Linked DNA regions of Homo sapiens: region 1 is linked to region 2. The links are contacts of gene promoters, found by promoter capture Hi-C in blood cells and fetal thymus (Javierre and others, 2016). All regions are on one chromosome and are shown on one strand. The core of a region is centred on a gene start or on the middle of the fragment in contact, and the rest is flanking DNA. Distances in the headings are between cores, read along the strand shown. Region 1 holds the start of C12orf75 (chromosome 12 open reading frame 75). Region 2 holds the start of NFYB (nuclear transcription factor Y subunit beta).

Region 1 (3,313 bases), core at 427-2,926, 1.2 Mb before region 2:
TACATGCATGAAACTAGCCTCATTTTAAGGGAAATCTGCTACAAATCCTTCCTACAATTTTTTTTAATGTGGATAACTTTTCTTCACCTTTTTTAAGTAGGCTACACATGCAGTGGATTGCATACGGCCACAGTACCTAGTAGACTGAGACACAATTTGAGTGCGGGGTGTGGCCCTGACATTGTTTCATACAAGCAGAGCTTTCTGGCCACAGGCAGGTTTGAAGCCCGTCTGCCCTCATTAGCATAAGGTGCTACACTAACCTTCCCCACTGTTAAATGAATCTAAAAAGTTCGCTCTCCTGTGGCTCTCTGCATTGTCACCAGGACAGGATTTAATTCAAGACTCAAATTGAGTCTTAAACTCCATTTTTTACCGGCGTCTGGGTTAAGGGATGTGACAGGCCCAAGGTTACAAAGTCATTGCCAGGGCCTCCACAGCCGCCTAGGAAATACCGCAGCCTCTGACTGCTGTTTGCATTTGCTGGTTAGGCTAGGATGTGGCATCTGGTTGACTTCAATTGGAGGAGATAGGAGCTCTTTATCCAAAAGGACACTGAAATAGGTCAGCAGTTATTACTCAAAACAGATCCAGGGTACCTTAAATCCCGAGACATAGGCAGGGTGAAATAGAAGGGTGAGTTTTGGCAAAAGTCACTTGACACAAAGCCTGGCTGGCCCGGGGAAGCTAGAAGACCTTGCCTGCCAATCAACATGAAGTGGTATAAAAAGAAGTTTCTATTTGTGTGTGTGTGTGTGTGTGTGTGTGTGTGTGTTTAATGAAAAGTATCTTAACAGACTGTTAATAATAAAGCTCTGTCTCACATATGTAAAACATCCTTACTGCTGCAGCTTCTCAGAGAAATCCTAAGAGCAGCCCAGCCGGTCTTCGGCATCAAGGCAGACACAGATGCGTTTTTGCAGCTCTGCTTCTAGTTCTCCCCAACCCCACTCCCACCCTTCCCCGCTTCCTGCCCCACCACCACTGCCCGAAAAGTCCTGTCTTGCTCTGCTGCACTTTTCCAGGTGCAGCGCCTTGGTTCCGAGGAGATGGGGGAGAGGCCTGGAGGAGCAAGTGTGGGAGGTGGGGGAGCGGCCGGGGACCACGTCCGGGAATCCTCTCCCCCAGGAGAGCCCTGAGACCCGCCAGCTGCAGGTGAGCCCCGGCGGCTGCAGGGGAGCCCGCGACAGTCCTCCCCGCGCTCCCTCGGCAGAGACGCCCCGCAGGCTCGACTGCTCCAGGCGCAACCGCCCCCGCGCGGGGGACTTGCCACGCTTTCGGTCTTTCCAGAAACGGGCGGTCTGCTCCTGTCCCGAAAATGGGGACGGGGAGAGGGGGCTGCGCGCCCCCCACCCAAGATCCCTGCACCCTTCCTTCCCGCCGCCTCTCCCGCCCGCCCCCGCCGGCCCCCGCCTCCCGCCGGACTCACCTTGGCCCGCGCCCGCGCTGGTGGCGGTGGAGTTCCCGCAGCCCATCGCGCAGCCGGCCGGGGAAGCCGCGCTCCGGAGCTCTCGGCCGCGGGTCCTGGGGGCGGAGACCCAGACGAAGGGCGGCGCACCCCGAGCGGGAGGCTGACGGGGCCGCGAGGGGCCAGGAACCGAGTGGGGGCCGCCCCCTCCCACCGCCGGGAGACGCGGCCCGGGGCGCAGCGGGCTGCGGGCTGCCGGGCGGAAACCACCCGGCACCCCTCGCCCCGGCCCCGCCCCGCCCGGGGACCCGCCGGACCCACCCGTCGCCCCAGCAACCTCGGCACTGGCCAATCCCCAGCCTCCTGCGCGCTTCGCGGTCGGCCATTGGTCGTTATTACGAGGGGCGGGAGTTTAAAGTGGGCCCCGGGGCGAGGGAGCGGCAAGGGGCGTGGCCGGCGCAGCGGGGTGGGGGTGCCCACCTGCCCACCCTCAGCATCCTCCTCGCCTTGTCTTTGCTTTTCTTTCCTCACTTCCCCTCCCTGCCCCAGGATGTGGGGAGGAGAGGAAGTAGCAGGGGGCACCCTGCACAGTGGACGCCCAATAAATGCTATTGACTGAATGTTGTGCAGGTCTGAAGCCAAAACCGAAATCCCCAGCTGCTTTAACAGAAGGCCAACGCAGCTCTGTTCCCCATACGCACTGCCTGGCAAAAGTTCTTCCCCAGATTGGTCATCTTGACCTATTCCTCTTTAAAACAAATGTCTGCAACGATTTCAATAACTTGGATTCAGGACCTCCTCTCTGATAAATGAGAGAACTGTGGATGGGCACGGTGCTGTACGTTTCAACATGATAGTTGGGCCAGCGTTACTGCAGTCAGACTGTCTGAGTTAAAGTCTTCGTTCTGCCCCGTGATAGCTGCGTGACCTCAGGAAAGTAACTTAACCCATTGGGTACATCCCTTGTTTCACCTATAAAATGACAGTAACTCAGGTACATATAAAGTACCTAACAAAGTTCCCTATCTTTAGTAAATATCAGCTATTATCATTATTATTATTAACTCTAATAGAAATGAATACAAATTCCTTAAAGGGAAAGACTATCTGATTTTTCATAGCGTCCTCCTGGCTTGTAATACAGACTCACTAAATGTTTTGTGAGGTGACTTCAAGCCAGGAATTAAAGCTCCATTTTAAATTCACTTAATATTTGTAGGGAGCCTAGCCTGTGCCAAGTCCTTTGTTAAGTTCCGGGGATACAAATATGTGGGAGACAGTCTAACCAGGCAGATAGATTAAAATAAATTAATTACAATATAGAAGGAATGTTAACAGAGGAATACAGGTGCCATAGAGTCCCAGAGGATGCTGGGATGCTAGTTAAAAGACTTGCCTAAGGCCAGGCATGGTAGCTTACACCTGTAAACTAGCACTTTGGGAGGCTGACACGGGCGGATCACGAGGTCAGGAGTTCGAGACCAGCCTAACATGGTGAAACCCTGTCTCTACTAAAAATACAAAGATTAATTGGGTGTGGTGGCATACACCTGTAATCCCAGCTACTTAAGAGGCTGAGGCAAGAGAATCACTTGAACCTGAGAGGTGGAGGTTGCAGTGGGCCGAGATAGCACCACTGCACTCAAGCCTGGGTGACAAAGCGAGATTCTGTCTCAAAAAAACAAAACAAAACAAAAAAAAAACAGACTTCCCTGAAACCATACTGTTGTGTTTACATAAAAATAAAAATATGAACCAGAATCAAGGACTTGGCAGGTTTTTGAACATGGCCTTTGAGGCAATGGTGCGTTCTATCATTCAGGATGCAAAATATACAGCATTCTCCATTTGAAAATTAGCTGTGGTAGCCATGTGCTGAGAGGATAATTAATTCTTGGATAAATA
Region 2 (3,361 bases), core at 98-2,597:
ACCACCACGCCCGGCTAATTTTTGTATTTTTAGTAGAGACGGGGTTTCGCCATGTTGGTCAGGCTGGTCTCGAACTCCTGACCTCAGGTGATCGGCCTGCTTCGGCCTCCCAAAGTGCTGGGATAACTTTTTTTTTTTAAAGGGCTTTCTATGTATACATTATCCCAAACAACCCTGAGAAGCAGACATTTGGCCAAGATCACAAGCCTGTAAGAAGGGGAGTTGGAATTCAAGTCAGGTTGTCTGATGACAGTGGCATTGCTACTTACTCCTCTTGTCACAATTTGGGGCTTTCATTTGTCTTTTCTTCCATACTTGCCGCAGAAATGTTTAAATACTCTGAGAAACAGTAGGAACTCTATAAATAAAAGATCTCTGTATTTTTACATAATCAAAGCTGGAGAGTTTAATGTGGTGCAGGCCACTCGGTTAGTGGAAGCAGAGGGCATGCCATCCCCAGCTCCGGTTGCAGTGAGTGGATCCAGTGTTGGATTACCCACCTCTGGGATGGTCACTGCTAAGCGAAGCTGAACTCAGGACTGCAGTTTGAGAAAGACAGCGAAGGAGCTTGGCTGCACAGAGGCAAGAACGGGCCACGGATTCTTGCAGCCAAAATGTCATCTGGTTGGGAAAAGCCGCTTGTCAATCTGCAGCTACTAGAGGGGTGGGGGTGGGTGGAAAATGCAGCATCTTAAGTTCAAGATTCAGGGTGAAGGCTGGCTAGACTTAGCAGGGGTCTGCATCTTTAGATGAAATGTGAAAAACACCCAAGCTCAGGGACCAAATGACAGGGAGCGCTGTGCATGCGGCGACGCTAACAGGGACCCAAGGAAAGAAAACACGAGGCGCTGAAGGCGCTCCAGGAGGCCCCCGCCGTTCAGACCCTCCCGGTGGCTCGGGCGCGTCGTCCTAGGGGGCGGCTTCTGTCCTTGGTTTCCCCTTCTTAAAAATCCAGGCGCAGGCAGGCTGAGCTCAGGCGGCTGAGGCACCTCCACGTGGCGGGGGAAGGGGTGACAAAGAGAGGGACGCCCGAGAGATCCCGCTTCGCACAGGCCCGGGTCAGCACCGGGAAGGAGGCCCGCCTAGACCCGAACGGCGCGCCCGGGCAGGGCCCTGGAAGACCTCGCGCCTAGAGGAGCGGCATCCGGAGCGGCGCGGAGGCCTCACAGGAACGCGGGACTGGGCCGGGGGCGGGGCGGGGCCGGGGGCGGGGCGGGGCGGGGCGGGGCCGCGGCGGGCGGGCGCGCGGGCGGCGCGGAGGGAGGGTGTCGCGCCGAGGGAAGCGGCCCGCGGCGGAGGGAGGGGAGGCCGAGTCCTGGAAGCGGAGCTCCGCGCTGGGACTGGTTCCTTCGCAGCCATTTTCTGTCCAACCAAACAGCCGATTGGAGACGGGAGCCAACCAGGGCTGCATTGGAGGTTTGTGTCTCGCTTCGGCCAATGATCGCTCCTAAACCGACTCCACTTTAGCTCGAATGAAATGTCCGTCTCCTCCCGGCGCCGTCCCCGCCGCCAACGCCGCCGCGGCCGGGGGCACTAGCCTCCCGCCCTCCCGCGCGGGCCGAGGCCGGGCCCCGCGCCTGCGAGGCCGCTCCCGCAGCGGGCCGGGCCGGGGAGCGGGCGCGGGGCCGCGGCGCGGCTCTTTGTGCGCCGGGCTGAGGAGCGGCGGGACGCGGGCCAGGCCACCTCACCCTCGCCGCCGTTGAGCTCCGGGCCCGGGGCCGAGGAGGGGCCGCGGGGCTGCGTCGGGGCCCCGCTCTCGACGGCGTCCCGGGCCGGCTCCATTTTGTGCGGGGAGCCGGCCGAGGGGCGGGAGACGCGGCCCGGGCCCTGGCCCCGTAGCCCCGGCGGCGGCGCGAGTCCCCGGGGGCGCCCTCCTCCCGCCCGCGGGGCTGTGGCGGGGCCCGGCGCTTTGTCTGCCCGCACATCCCGGGGGCCGCGCGGCGGGTGGGAGGCAGGCGTTGGGCGCGGGGCCGGGGCGGCCGGGCGAGTCAGGGGATGCGCTCTGGGGGCGGCCTCCTGGCACTCGCAGGGCTGACAGGTCGCCGGGACCAGGCCGTGGGGCCGGGGCCACCCAGGCACCTGCGTGGGGAGGAAGGCATGGCTTTAGCTTCCCCGCAGCCTGGTTTGCGCGTAAAGAATGCAGCCATCTGGCGGTTTGCGGTCCCTGTACTTGCCCCGAAGGTGGGAAGGAAGCCCTTCGGATTGGACTAAGGTTTTAATCATTAGTGGTGGGAGGCGGGAGGATATGCAGGGCCTTAAAGAACGGTAGTCTTAGAGAACAAAGAATTACAGAGCACCCACAAATCGTAATCTCGCCCAAAGCACTCTAACAGGATAATTTAAACAAGGTTAGGTAGCCTGCGACCTTTAAAAAAATGGCATCCCACTAACCCGCATGGACCCCATAGTTGCGTGGTTCGTGCTACAAATCACTGGGGTGGTTTCATCTCTCTTAGTATGGAAACTAATCAGCAACATAAAGTGATGAAAGCAAACGGATCAATATCAGTGGCACTAATCAGTGGGGGGTTTATTTGTAAAGTATTGAAAGTTTAACCAAAATTCCTTAAAAGGCAAATTATTCCTTCCCTGCATTGCTCTTGTATCTTAATTTAAGGATTACTGTATATTGATGCAAAACTCTGGTTGTTGATGCCAAAGAATGGAGGGTGGAGGAAGGGACTACTGCTTTTCTTGGATACAAATTTGCATTTCTTAAAACATTAAACAGATGTATGCATTCCCTTGAGCTTTTACATATATCAACCTGCCCTTAAGAAAATATACACCATATGAGGTGACAGTGTTTTTCTTTAATGTACTGAGTCTAAATATATACTGAATCAACTATTTGGGTGAGTGAGTGTGGTGTGGTATGACTCCCTGCCCACACCCCCCTCTCCCATTCCAAGCAAAATACATAAATATAGCTCCCATGTTTTAAGTGTTCTGAGGGCTTATTTTTTCAAAGACACTCTTTAAAAAATAACATTTCTCGTTACAAGGAAGGACTTTTCTGAGCAGTTTTGGGGTTAGAGGATACTATTAATATTTGAAAAGAAATTATAAATTACTTTTAATATTATAGCAAACGTCAAGCAGTTTTTGCTACCTGGACCTTTTTAGTGGCATTAAAAACTTTCAATTCAGTGGCTACAATTTTTTCTGCTATTTGCTAGATTTCATGCTTGGATGCGTATCAGTATATCTTCTCCCTTTAAAATTAACACTGAAAGGATGTGTTTTTGTTTTGGCATCCTACCCCTCCCCCATTTAATTGTTTCCTTTGAGAAAGAATGGAGCAAATGAGAAATGAAACTTGTAACACAGCAATTGGTACTAATTTGTTCAGCTATTTATG

What was found. The method cuts DNA at HindIII sites, captures the fragments that hold promoters and counts their contacts. A CHiCAGO score of 5 or more calls a contact.
Region 1: a contact is called between the fragment with the promoter of C12orf75 here and the fragment with the promoter of NFYB in region 2, in 3 of 17 cell types (fetal thymus, total B cells and non-activated CD4 T cells). The highest score is 8.3, in fetal thymus.

What each region holds. Positions count from the first base shown.
Region 1 is chr12:105,329,054-105,332,366 of GRCh38, reverse strand. C12orf75 (chromosome 12 open reading frame 75) reads right to left here and starts at 1,676. Exons shown (of 6, transcript NM_001145199.2): 1 at 1,430-1,676. The coding sequence starts at 1,475. RefSeq lists an enhancer at 51-594 and silencers at 1,251-1,350, 1,381-2,040. The HindIII fragment of the contact is 8,522 bases long and covers 1-3,313 here.
Region 2 is chr12:104,136,196-104,139,556 of GRCh38, reverse strand. NFYB (nuclear transcription factor Y subunit beta) reads left to right here and starts at 1,347. Exons shown (of 8, transcript NM_006166.4): 1 at 1,347-1,416. RefSeq lists enhancers at 610-779, 1,603-2,194, 2,195-2,788 and silencers at 1,164-1,463, 1,514-1,613, 1,714-1,793, 1,854-1,983. The HindIII fragment of the contact is 8,431 bases long and covers 1-3,361 here.